Linked DNA regions of Homo sapiens: region 2 is linked to region 1. Evidence: promoter capture Hi-C in 16 types of primary human blood cells and fetal thymus (Javierre and others, 2016). All regions are on one chromosome and are shown on one strand. Each heading gives the region's core, a stretch centred on a gene start or on the middle of the fragment in contact. The rest is flanking DNA. Distances are from core to core; before and after follow the strand shown. Region 1 holds the start of SLC26A2 (solute carrier family 26 member 2). Region 2 overlaps PPARGC1B (PPARG coactivator 1 beta).

Evidence for each region. Contacts are between HindIII fragments. The CHiCAGO score rates a contact against its expected background, and 5 or more counts as called.
Region 2: a contact is called between a fragment that was not itself captured here and the fragment with the promoter of SLC26A2 in region 1, in 1 of 17 cell types (erythroblasts). The highest score is 5.5, in erythroblasts.

Annotation. Positions count from the first base shown.
Region 1 is chr5:149,956,762-149,963,535 of GRCh38, forward strand. It overlaps SLC26A2 (solute carrier family 26 member 2), which reads left to right and starts at 3,997. Exons shown (of 3, transcript NM_000112.4): 1 at 3,997-4,218. RefSeq lists enhancers at 2,413-3,016, 2,813-2,892 and a silencer at 3,933-4,052. The HindIII fragment of the contact is 4,280 bases long and covers 1,686-5,965 here.
Region 2 is chr5:149,815,234-149,822,007 of GRCh38, forward strand. It overlaps PPARGC1B (PPARG coactivator 1 beta), which reads left to right. Exons shown (of 12, transcript NM_133263.4): 2 at 5,200-5,373. Among named protein-coding and RNA genes, the nearest start is that of MIR378A, 86 kb to the left of the region's middle. RefSeq lists enhancers at 521-665, 3,942-4,458 and a cis regulatory region at 593. The HindIII fragment of the contact is 7,137 bases long and covers 1-6,774 here.

The DNA.
Region 1 (6,774 bases), core at 2,747-5,246:
ATGTACCCATTGTTTAGTTCCCACTTATAAGTGAGAACATGTGTCTTTGGTTTTCTGTTTCTGAGTTGTTTTTCTTAGGATAATGGCCTTCGGCTCCACCCATATTGCTGCAAAGGACGTGATTTTGTTCTTTTTTATGGCTGCATGGCAGGCTTTTAAAAACTATCAATGTCTGAGTCAATACCAATAAAAGTATATCTGGTAGTAGGACCTAAACATTACCATTTTTTTAAAAGTTCCCCAAGAGACTCTTTTTTTTTTTTTGAGATGGAGTTTTGCTCTTGTTGCCCAGGCTGAAGTGCAATGTTGCAGTCTCGGCTCACTGCAACCTCCACCTCCTGGGTTCAAGTGATTCTCTTGCCTCAGCTTCCTGAGTAGCTGAGATTACAGGCACCCACTGCCACACCCGGCTAATTTTTTGTATTTTTAGTAAAGACAGCGTTTCACCATGTTGGCCAGGCTGGTCACGAACTCCTGACCTTGTGCAGAACTGAGAACTGCTGGTATAGAATAAACCTGGAAAGCAACACAGGAAAATGGGTGCTGTGTTTGCCTCTAGAAAGGTACACCAGGGTAAGAATAGGCTATGAGGAAGATTTACTTTTTACTGTAAACCCTTGACCTTTTTAATTTGTTTACTTTGTGTTACCTATTTCCAAGAACAATCAAGCTAACATTTTACAAAATGTTTTGCAAAAAAGTAAAATGGCCCAGGCATGGTGTCTCATGCCTGTAATCCCAATACTTTGGGAGGCCAAGGTAGGAGGATCACTTCAGGCCAGGAGTTTGAGGCCAGGAGTTTGAGATCAGGCTGGGCAACATAGGGAGACCCCCATTTCTACAAAAAAATAAAAAATTAGCTGGGTGTGGTGGCGTTCGGCTGTGGTTCTAGACACTCAGGAGGCTAAGGTGGGAGGATCACTTGAGTCCAGCAGTTCGAGGTTAGAGGGATCTATAATTGCGCCACTGCACTCCAGCCTGGGTGACAGAGCAAGACCCTGTCTCTTAAAAAAAAAAAAAAAAAAAAAAAAAAAGACACTTATAGCAGTGAAAATGAAGCCTGAATAGCACACTAGGAATAGTTCATTCAATAGTGGGAATCCAGTGGGAGTTCAAGGTCCAGTGGGGCCTCAGAGGAAGTGACTAGTCCCACCTGGGAAGAATGGGTGGTCAGGAATGCTGAGGAGGTAAATCCTGAAGTGGCCCCAACCTGAAAGGACTTATTTGCTGGCCCACCATGCCTCCAGTGCATACATCATTAGTTACGCTTTGGAAAAGCTGTTTGGGAAGAGTAATGGCTATAAAATGTGGCCCTCCGGCTGCCAGTCACCTCTGTGAACCCTGAGACCAACAGGAGGGAAAAAATGCCCAGGCTAGGAGGCGTAAAGAGATCCAAGTGCTGCTGATGTGATGTCATCGAGGAAAAGCTAATTATTGGCCAGCTTTCCAGTAGCAGGGATTTAGTTATTCACCCCCACCCCCCACCCCACCCCTCCACCCGCTGCCTTTGATTCCTGTTGTGGAGCACTGGAACATCGGTGAAGGGAAAGTAGCATGGCAGACCAAAGTCTGGCTCCATGGAGCTCCTTGGGATGTGTGTGTGGAGATCAGCGAGGGACCACAACAGTAAACAGCAGCCAGGGATGCTGAACTAGGAGGCAGAGAGGCACCAATGGCCAACCTAAAGCTTCTTTACTAGCACCTTCTCCTGGCCCCGGGCCATAGCTTGCATGTTCTTGGGTGCTGGCATGTCACAGCTCCCAGGTCAAAATCCACCTCCATCCCATCTCAAAATCTACTGCTTGTTAGCTGAATAAACTTGGTAAGTAATACTATTCTGAGCCCCAATTTCTTCGTCTGTGATGCAGATGAATATGTATGAAATAAAATCAAAGAATGATAGGCAGTATTAAATTTGACTGGTCTGGTTTTTTATTTTTGCTTTTGTTTTTATTTTTGAGATGGGGTCTCACTCTGTCACCCAGGCCGGAGTGCAGTGGCACGATCTCGGCTCACTGCAACCTCTGTCTACTGGGCTCAAGCTGTCCTCCCACCCCAGCCTCCTGAGTAGCTGGGACTACAGGCACATGCTACCATGCCTGGCTACTTTTTTCTATTTTTGGTAGAGTTGGAGTTTCACCATGTTGTCCAGGCTGGTCTCTAACTCCTGAGCTCAAGTGGCTTATAGGCATGAACCACCATGCCCGGCCAAATTTGGCCAATCTTTATTGGTGCCTGTTATATGCAAGGTCCTGGCTTCCCCACACAGACAAGAAAACAAACAAATAAATGAATAAATGTCAGCTGCAAGGATTGGAGTGGATTCTTGCATTTGCATAGCACAGTGAGTGTAGTGGTTAAGAGTGGGCTTTGCAGTCAGACGTGACTGTGTTAAAATCATGCTACTGTCACTTATTAACTGTGGGACGTTGGGCAGATCACCTAACATCTCTGAGCCTCATTTCCTCACCAAAAAAAAGAAGAATCATAATATGGCACCTCCTCTAAAGCTGTTGTGAGGATTAACTCATGTAATGAATGTGAAGAGTTCTGCGCAGGCACGTGATAAACATCCAGAAACTGTTTATTCTGCTTGTTGTGCAGTCTTTAGGGCTTAAACAAAGTACTTTACACTGATTGCCTTACCTGACCCTCTCCAGGACTCTGGGTGCTAGGGCATTAACTACCCTTTGAAAGGTGAAAACATTGATGCCCATTGAGGTGAAATGATTTGTCTTCAGCCACAAGGGGCAGCATCAGGAGTAGAACCCAAGTGTTTGTGTTCTGATTCCCAAGACAGCTTATGACGTTTTGGAAACTCTGAATCTGATGGGTGACAGAAACTTGGGGATCATCTCTAGATAAGAAAGGGAGTTCCTTGAATGACTGTGAAGACGTTCACCGGAAAGGGAAGGAAAGGAAGTTAATCATGCTTCCTTCACAGGCCCTCCTTCACCCCCATCTAGTGGGCACATGCAAGCTACAAACAAGGTGAGGAATGAACAAATTAATACATACTCAATAGTGGCCAGTTCGAGGCAGATAATTAAATCAAGATGACCTGAAAGGATGTGACTGGCTGTGGCTAGTTTACACAGGGTGGTCAGGGACGGCCTCGCCATGGAGAGGGCTGGTGTTTTGGCTGAGACCTGAGAGACCAGAAGAAATCTGATGGCCAGAACCAATGTTTAGGTCCCTAAAGAGAACAAGCGTGGCGAGCAAAGGGGGCCAGTATGGGTGGAGATCAGCGAGGGAGGGGGGCAGAGATGAGTGCCCGAAGCACACAGTACCTTGGCATAGGGAGGGTTTGATTTTACCTACAAATGCCATTAAACCCACTAAGGATTTTAACAAAAACTACAATTACATTTTAATTTACATTTTATGTTTTATAGAGACAAGGTTCGGCTATACTGCCCAGGTTGATCTCGAACCCCTGGGTTCAAGCGATCCTCCCTACTCGGTCCCCCAAAGTGCTGGGATTACAAGCGTGAGCCGCTGCGCCCGGCCTTTTAATTTACATTTTAGCCTTCCGGTTACTGGAATCTTTGATGGGGAATGAGTTATAGTGAGGCAAGAGCCTCTAACATTCTAGGAGCTCTTTTCCCGTTCGGGGCCTCAATTTCCCGTTCTACAAAGGCGGGTGGGAGGGAACGGGGTCCCAAGTAGTACTGGATAAAGAGGTGGCCGATCGCAAACGCTGAGCACTTCAAAACTCTGGGCAGAGCGCTTCCGCGCCTCTCCTGCTATTTCACCCTGGCCACAGGCTAGCCGCCGAGGCCGGTCATCCGCTCTCTCCGCGGAGGAGTCAACGCCACGGAAGCAGCGGCGGAACCTCTCTAAGAATCCTTCCAGCTTGTGCTCTTCTGTCCAGGGCAGCCAATCGCGAGGAGGAGAGTAGTCAGAGGGCGGCACCCTCCCCGGTCTGGGCCGAGTTATTGGCTGGTGGTAGCGTCGCTCGCCCGGCAGTACCACGTGACGGCCTCGGCCGCGGGCGTTTACACTGGCTCTGCCTCCGGCATCTCTTCGCCGGTGCGTCCTCGCCGCGCCCGTAGGTCCCGGCAGCCGGGCCCCGCCTCCTTCGGAGTCCGAGCGATGGGCGGGGAAAGGGACAGGCAGGTATAGCTCTGTCGGCGCCGCGGTGTCCACCTCAGTCAGGCCACGGTGGAAGACGCGTGCCGCGGCGCCTGGTTGCCTGCAGCGGCCCGGACCCGAGAGGTGAGAAGAGGGAAGCGGACCAGGGAAGAGGGAGGGAGCGGTGCTGGCCGCCAAGCGGTCAGCGGGCCCCTCCCAGAGTCATTCTGCCTGGGTCCCCGCGCGGTAGAATCCCAGATCAGGGGTCGCCGCCGTGGAGCGGGGCGTGCGTCAGGTTATTTCCCGGGTGGTCCGGGGCCGGGCGAGTGGCACTGCACCCTGGTGATCCGGGCCTGCCCGTCTGGCTGGCGGCTGCCCACCCGCCCTCCATCCCGCGTATCTCGCCGTATCTCGCCGGGTGCCACGCACTCCGCTGCTTTTCCAGTCCTCGTTGATCCGTCTCGAACCTAGATATCTGGAATAGGGATCGAGGAGATAGGAGCCACCACCACCTCGGACAGATGGGGAAACTGAGGCCGGCACAGGCGAGACGGCTTGGTTATCTTGGTTATTAAAAATCACACACCCGATTAAGTACAAAATCAGGACCTGTTCTTTCGGACTCACACACTAAGTTGGTATTATTTCACTGGATGGATGGAAACACTGAGAAGACAGAGAGGGCCCAGAGCCTTGCCTAAAAATACACAGCAAGTCTTTTGCAGAGCTAGGACTTGTACCCAGCTCTCCAAACTCATAGACTATCAGCCTGGGCTCCTTCCTTGCACAGATTGGGGATCACAGTGAGTTAGAAACATTCAGAACTTAAATTGCCTTCCGGCGCCCATTCTAGTTAACCTGTCTTTTCTCCTTGTCCCCAACAGTTCTTTATGTGAAATCTACAACTAATGTGATATGCAATACTAGATTAAGCAGAACTTTTTGTTTTTGAAAATTGAATCAATAAGAAATGGAGGGCCAAAGCTGTGGGAAAGGAATGGACCCTTTAAAATCAGGAATCTCAAGGCAGGATATAGCAAGGGACAGAGACTAATAGCTGTCGTTTATTGAGTAAATGCTATGTGCCAGGCACTGTGGTAGGTAGTTGTGTTAGCCTTACAAACCAGCAAGTTAGGTAATGTTACCCCATTTTACAGGTCAGAAATTGATGCTGAGTACAGTGAAGTTTTACAAAACCATTGCCATATGACTGCTGAGCAGTATAGCTGGGATCTGAACAGAGATCTGTTTGACTTCCAGAACACATCCAGTGATTCTCCAAGTGTGGTCCTAAGCTCACTCGTTCAGCATCATCTAGCGTGTGGAGTCCTGGATCTCATCCTTGGATTTGCAGGGATGGTCCTAAGAAGCTAACGGCTCTCTGTATTTGACAATTATTGTACTGTAATGTGCTGCCTCCTAGGGGAAGATCTAGAGGTGAACATACTCTGGGCTAGGGGTAATTTTTGAGGGAAAAAAATCACTTTTTTTTAATTTCTGATTTGACTTTTTTTTTTTTTGAGACCAGGTCTTACTCTGTCATCCGGGCTAGGAGTGCAGGGGCGCGATCTAGGCTCACTGCAGCATTGACCTCGTGGGTTCAAGCAAACCTTCCACCTCAGCTTCCTGAGTAGCTGGAACCACAGGTGCACGCTGCCATACCTGGCTAGTTTTTGTAGTTTTTGTAGAGATGGTGTTTCACCATGTTGCCCAGTCAGGTTTCAAACTCCTGAGCTCAAGCAATCCTCCTGCCTTGGCCTTCCAAAGTGCTGGGATTACAGGCATGAGCCACTGTGCCCTGCCCACACTTTTATTTTTTATTTTCCCCCATGATTGACAGAAGGATAATCACGCTTTTAGTGAATGTAAACCCCCAGGCAGATGCTTGCCAAGCTTAATTTCTTGACATAAGCTTGGTTTTGGCATGTGGGGGCGGAAGAGTGGGGTTGGAGAGTTAAGTGAGAATGGGGAAAGTAACTCCTTTTTCCTTATCATATAGCTGTTAAATTCTAATTCACTCAACAGATACTTGCTAAGCATTTATTAGGTGCAAGACATGTTCAAGACACTGAGAATACAGCTTTGAACAAAACAGAGCAAGTCAGTGCCCTCATGTGAAAGACAATTAACAATGTGTGGTATGGAATGGTGAGAAGAGCTATGGAGAAAAATAAAGGGCATAGGAGTGCAAGGCAGGGCTGGGCCCAGGAGGAAGACATGGAAATGGCAGCAATGGCAGTGGTGCTATATTTATTTATTTATTTATTTATTTATTTATTTATTTATTTTTTGAGATGGAGTTTCACTCTTGTTGCCCAGGCTGGAGTGCGGTGGCGCCATCTTGGCTCACTGCAATCTCTGCCTCCTGGGTTCAAGTGATTCTCCTTTGTCAGCCTCCCAAGTAGCTGGGATTACAGGCACATGCCACCACGCCTGGCTAATTTTTTTTTTTTTCTTTTTTTGAGACAGAGTCTCACTTTGTCTCCAGGCCGGAGTGCAGTGGCGTGATCTTGGCTCACTGCAACCTCTGCCTCCCAGGTTCAGGTGATTCTCCTGCCTCAGCCTCCTGAGTAGCTGGGACCACAGGCATGTGCCACCACGTCCGGCTAATCTTTTTATTTTTAGTAGAGACGGGGTTTCACCATGTTGGCCAGGATGGTCTCAATTTCATGACCTCGTGATCCGCCTGCCTCCGCCTCC
Region 2 (6,774 bases), core at 2,225-4,724, 140 kb before region 1:
GTGACCTCCTTGGAGCTAGGGTCTTCACAGAGATAATCAAGTTAAAATGAGGTCATTAGGGTGGGCCCTCATCCAGTATGGCTAGTGTCCTTATCAAAAGGGGCAATTGGGGCACAGAGACAGATATGCATAGAGGGAAGAAAACATGAAAAAACAAGGAGAAAATGGTCATGTACAAGCCAAGGAGAAAGGCCTGGAACAGACTCTCAGAAGGAACCATTCCTGCAGACACCCTAATCTCAGACTTCTGTTGTTTAAGCTACCACCCAGTTGTGGTCCTTTGTTATGGAAGCCCTAGCAACCTAATTTATTTATTTATTTACTTACTTACAATTTATTTATTTATTCGAGACTGAGTCTTGCTCTGTCGCCCAGGCTGGAGTGCAGTGGCGTGATCTCTGCTCACTGCAATCTTTGCCATCCATGCCTCAGCCTCCTGAGTAGCTGGGATTACAGGCACCCGCCGCCATACCTAGCTCATTTTTGTATTTTTAGTAGAAATGCAGTTTTACCATGTTGGCCAGGCTGGTCTCAAACTCCTGACTTCAAGTGATCTGCCCGCCTCGGCCTCCCAAAGTGCTGGGATTACAGGTGTGAGCCACCGCGCCTGTTCCTAGCAACCTAATTTAAATGACTTGCCGACATGGGGACGGTAGCACCCACCCTGCTGGGTTGATTTAAGACTGATGAGAGCATGTATAGAAGGCACTTAGCATGGGCCTTGGCATCCAGTAAGGGCTCCATAATAGCAGCGGCTGTTAGTTTGTGCTTCAACCTCCCAGCTCCACTGGCAGGGCCTGTGGAAGCCTCCCGGGACAGGACAAGAAGGCCTTAATTCAGACCTTTCAAAAAGAACTGGGCCACTTGAAGCACTCCTTCAAAAGCCTCTCTAAATATGGAGATGGCCAGAGAAATCACTATTAATGTGGCGCTTAATGGTTTTTAGCTAGAGAGTGGTCTTAGCCTAATTGACAAGGCCGCGAAGCTGAGGTTTCTTTGTTTTTATGTGCTGGGTACACTTTGAGTATGTTGAGCTGCTATGGGCAATCAATAAGTGTAGTCATCACAGCCATTTTATGGACATTTTGTAAAGGAGGCGGTATGGTTTCGAGGGAAGGACACTCACCGGATGACCCCGAACAAATCCATTATCCTCTTTGGGTCTCAGTTTCCATATTTGCAAAGTGAAGGAGATAGACCAGCTAGGTTGGGAGTTCTTAAGCTAGTTCTATGAAGTTCTAAAAGTTAAGTGTACATTTTGTGCACATACCTGCATCTTCTGGGGAAAAATGTACATAGCTTTTGTCTGGTTTTTGAAGGGACCTCTGCCTCCCAGATTGTTCACCATGACTTACCTGGACAACTCTCAGAGCTGCGGGTTCCTGGCTAGTCTGGGATTCTGGGACTCTGGTTCTAAAGCTGTTTCTAAGAAGCAAGGCCTACAAAGGTGGCTGCTCTGAGTTACTGGAGAGAGGGAGATCTGGAACATAGAGCTCACCCAAGATCTTATTGCTGGGGGCTTTGCTGGCCTCGGAGGCCCCAGCTGCCTAGCAACCCGTGTCTCTGCTTTTGGCCCTCCCTTGTGTCCCACAGTCCCTAGATGGTGTCTGAGAGGTACCTCCCCAACCCACCACCTGTCCCCTCCTGGATGGCTACAACAGCTGTTAAACCATCTCCCTGCTTCTATGCTGGTCCTACCCCCATCACACTTGGGGTAAAACCCAAATCCTTTCCAATCCCTTCCTGATCCAGCCTCCACCAGCCTTTCTAGTGTCATCTTTTCCCATTTCCTCCATCCCCCACCCCTGGTCACCAAGCTGCAGCCTCACTGACCTCAACGCCTTGTGCCTTGGGCTCAGTCCCCACGGGGGTCTTTGCCTCTGACTGTCCCTCTGCCTGCAATGCTCTTCCCACCTCTTCCACTACCTGGCTTCTCCTTCAAGAAGTTTTTCCTGACATTCCATCTGATTTAGATTCTGGGCTGGGCACAGTGGCTGACACCTGTAATCCCAGCACTTTGTGGGGCTGAGGTGGGATGAGACAAGCCTGGGCAACATAGAGAGACCCCTGTCTGTACAAAAAATTAAAAAAGAAAAATTAGCCAGGTGTGGTGGTGCACACCTGTACTCTCAGCTACTTAGGAGGCTGAGGTTGAAGGATTGCTTGAACTTAAGGGGTTGAGGCTACAGTGAGTCGTGATCAAGCCATGTTGTATTCTAGCCTGGGCAACAGAGCAGGATCCTGTCTCTAAACACAAAGAGCGTGAAAAGATAGATTTTGTTTCCTGTTATCTTCCATCAGTGCACCTTGTTTGTTTCTCCTTCATAGCACTAACTCAGTCTAGAATGAAATATTTACATGTTTTCTTCCCTCACTAAGATGTCAACTCACGGAGGAAGGAGCTGAGTCTTATATAACACAGTGCCTGGCTCATAGTAGCATTGAACATGCCCACTAGAATGGCTAAAATAAAGTGACTGACAATACCAAGTGTTGGAGAGGGTGCAGAAGAATTGAACTCATACAGCTGATGGGAGTGTACAAAGTGAGTGTTCTCTCATTGTGGAAAACAGTTTTCTGTTTTATAAACTTACACACATGCTTACCATATGGCCCAACAGTTTCACTCGTAGGTATTTACCCAAGAGAAGTAAAGACATATGTCCAAACAAGACTTGTATGCAAGTATTGCAGACTTACTAGAAATGGCCCAAAACAGGAAACAAACCAATTATCCATGTAGAACAGGACCACGGCTGCATCCCCACAGTCTGCTTGGGCACGAAGGAGAAAGAAGCTCCCAAGAGGCAGCTGAGAGAATCCACCTGAGTTCCCGCAGCAGGGGCAGCCACTGAGTGCTGGTGATTTGTAGTTGGGGGGCATGACAGTTGGGCTTGTGGGGAGAGCGGTACCTGGGGGACCCAGAGATTGAGGAAGCACCTGTGTCCCTCTCATCTTCAGATTCCCAATCAGGTTCAGAAGTGTTCTGCTCTTCTCTGGAGAGTCATGATTTAGAATTACATGTTTTGTTTGTGTGATTATTTGTTTAATGTCATCCTTCCCCACCCACCATCACAGTGCCTGGCTCAGAGTGAGTGGGCTCTCAATAATGAGGATTGTGGAATACATGTGGATTGGAGAAAGAATGGGCAGGTGGTGGGCAGGGTGGTGGGGCCATGCTCCCAGAGACAGACTTGCTGGGCACCTTGCTGCCTGCTTGAGGACAGGGGACCGGCCGCTTGAGAGGACCTGGGCCTGTTGCCGCCTGTGTAGGCAGGATTCTTGCAAAATGCCAATTAAGACATTTGACCCAAATTTGGATAAAAGCCTTTTTCCTGTGTCAAGTTGAGCTAATAATATACATTTATTCATAATTTATGAGGCCTAGTAAGTGGGAACAATTAAGGGAAAGGTCTGGGGAAAACCTGTTTCTCTTAAGTGTCACATATGCCTCTTTTTGTTCTCTGAGAAGTTCCCGCTCCTCTCTGCCTACCATGAAATACCATTGTTTTATCATTATTATTATCATTATTTGTTATATTACTCTTAGCTGACATTTATTGAGCAGTTACTAGGCCGGGCTATAATGACATTGCCTCTTTTAATCTTAACATATAAGGCAGATATTGTTGTTGTCCACGTTTTACAGATGAAGGGACTTGCCCAAAGTCCACAACTGGTGAATGGGGATCTCAACTCACTTCTGCCAGGCCCCAGGGCCAACAGAACATCACCAAGCCATTCTGTTTCTGTGTCAGCCCCCCAACTCAGGCTATTTCTGAATCTGTAGGGCAGTTCTTCTATTGGTAACCATTAAACTGGGGAGACCAGGGTGAGAAATTGATTGGCTTCTGATTCAGTAGCTCTGGGTTTAGGCCTGAGAATTTATATTATTTCCAACATACCAGGTTTCCAGGTGATTCTGGTGCTGCCCGTCTGGGACTACACTTTGAGAACCACTGATTCAGGCAATGCTGTTATCAGAGTCACCTGTGGCTCCCTTCTCCCCTACTCACTGCTGTTAGGTGGGTTTATGACCGTCTAGATCTTTTCCTGTGTGTTTGCATACATGCTATCCTACATAGAGAAATATATGGCTTGATTTTTACTTTCTTTACACATGTGGGGTTATATTTTACATGCTGGTATTCTACAACTTTTTTATTTAATGTGTCTTGGAGAACACACAGATCTTCCTCATTCTTTTCAACAGCACTGTAGTATTTCATGATATGGGTGTTTGTTTGTTTGTTTGTTTTTGTTTTTTTTTGTTTGTTTTTCGTTTTTTTGAGACAGTTTCCATCTGTCACCCAGGCTGGAGTGCAGTGGCTCGATCTCAGCTCACTGCAACGTCCGCCTCCCGGGCTCAAGTGATTCTCATGCCTCAGTCTCCCAAGTTACTGAGATTACAGGCATGCGCCACCACCCCTGGCTAATTTGTGTATTTTTAGTAAAGACGGGCTTTCGCCATGTTGGCCAGGCTGGTCTTGAACCCCTGACCTCGAATGATCCGCCCACCTTGGCCTCTCAAATTGTTGGGATTACAGGCATGAGCCACCATGCCCGGCCCGTGATACGGGTGTTTTATGGCTTTATTTACATATTGTCTATTGATTGGTGTTCCATCATATATCATATATGTAATTTTATGTTCATCATATATGTTCCATCGTATATTACATCATATATGTAATTTTAGACATTACATATATTCCTATAAAATTCCTGGGAACATGAATGGGTGTTTCTCCAGAACCTAGCAGTCACACAATACTGTCAGTCATTATTATTGCTGTTTTTTGTTTCATTATTAATATAGAGGCATTGTTAGCTTTAAGAAGTCCACTTATAAGTGGGGACATATGTGTAAAGGATTAGCTCCTCTATTTACAGTCTTTAATAAAGTTTTCAACAAAACAGTTCTGGTAACAGGAGGACAGAGATGTATGTGGGCAGGGCCTTGAGGGATATGTAGGAGTGCAGAGGGGAGAGCAGCAGGGGGTTTTGTACTGCTGGGGCCTAGCTTAGCTACCAGAAGATTCAACCAAGGGGTGAAGCTGATCTTTCCATTTCTTGGTCATTTGGCAAAATCGGGCCTTGGCCACGGGTCCAGATTAGCTGCATCATTATTGAGAGGGCCCCTGCTTGGGTCTAGCCAGCCTCAGCTCTGATCCACCTCTTTCCTTCCTGTCTCCTCAGGGTGGAGGGTCCGGGGAGGAGCAACTCTATGCTGACTTTCCAGAACTTGACCTCTCCCAGCTGGATGCCAGCGACTTTGACTCGGCCACCTGCTTTGGGGAGCTGCAGTGGTGCCCAGAGAACTCAGAGACTGAACCCAACCAGTACAGCCCCGATGACTCCGAGCTCTTCCAGGTATGCCCTTTCCAGTCTCCCCTCCTCCCACCCTGCCAGGCCTCTCTCTCCTCAAAATCCCGGCTCTGCCCTGCTCTGCCTTCTCCTGCACTTGCTCATGCAGAGAAATCCCCTCACCCACCAAAGCTGTTGGGCCCCGGTTTCTCGTGCTGGATGGGCCCCTGATCTGGCGCAGCGCACATGCCTCACCTGGCCCTTGCTGTGTCACCTCCAGAAAGTAAGGGTGAGATGAACTGCTCTCTAGGCCTCCCGAGCAGAACCAAGCCCCTTCGTGTGCCACAGAGGTCCAAGTCCTCTGTTCCCTACATTATCTCATCCAGTCTTCGTCCCCACCCTGCAAGACAGGGTCCAGTATTTTCCCATTTTACAGATAAGGAAAATGAGGCTTGGAAAAGTTAAGTCATGTGCCTAGGGCAATTAACCTAGTCAGAAGTTGAACTGGATTCAAACCCAGTCTTCTTGCCTCCAGAGCCGGGACTTTACGACCATGATGATACCATAATGAGATGACTGGCATTTATTGAGCAGCTGTTCTGTGGGAGAGCTGTCCCTGTTTGTGTATATTAATTCATTTAAATTTCTTAACAACTCTCAGTTGTAAATACAATTATCTCCCTTTTTCAGCTGGAGCCTAGAGGTTCTTTAATAAGAGGGAGTGCCAAGAACCACTATTATGCATGTGCCTCTCCCAGCCCTGTGTGCTCCAGCGCCCAGCCTCAGGGGCATGTAATGGCTAGCATTTCCTGTAAGAAGGCCTCTTACGGAATAATATGATGTCTGGGGTTTGCTTCAGAAGAAAGCAAGCTCTGCATGGATTTGCATGTGTGGGTGGGAGTGTGCGGCCTAGAGGGTAATCGATGAAATTGGATTGGCCGTATTTAGCTGGGTGATGGACACATTCAGATTCATGATTCTTTTCTTGGAATTTTCTCCCTCATAAAGATTGGGGGCAGAAGCCATAGCTCCCTGTGCCTGTCTGGCAGTATAATAATAATAACAACCACAATAACATCGCGTGTGCTGAACACCAAGGTGGTGTGCCGCAAGCGTCCTCTCCAAGCGTCCTCCTCATGGATTTTATCATCCTTTTAGAAACGTTTACCAAGCCCCCTATGTGTCAGGCACTGTGTTCATCCGAGGACTTTACCGTCTGTAAACATGTGAACAAACAGCAGTCACTTGTGATAAGGGCAGAAAGGAAATAGAGAAGGGACTGTGGACTGAGTGGTCGGGAAAGGCCTCTCTGAGGAAGAGAAGCTATCAGTTGTGTACTCCTAATAATCGATTTTACAGACAAGGAAAGGGAAGCTCAGAAAGGCTGAGTAACTCGCCCAAGGTCAAACAGCTAGTAAGGATCCAGGCAAAGACTGTAATCTAGGAACCCACACCCCTCACCGCTAC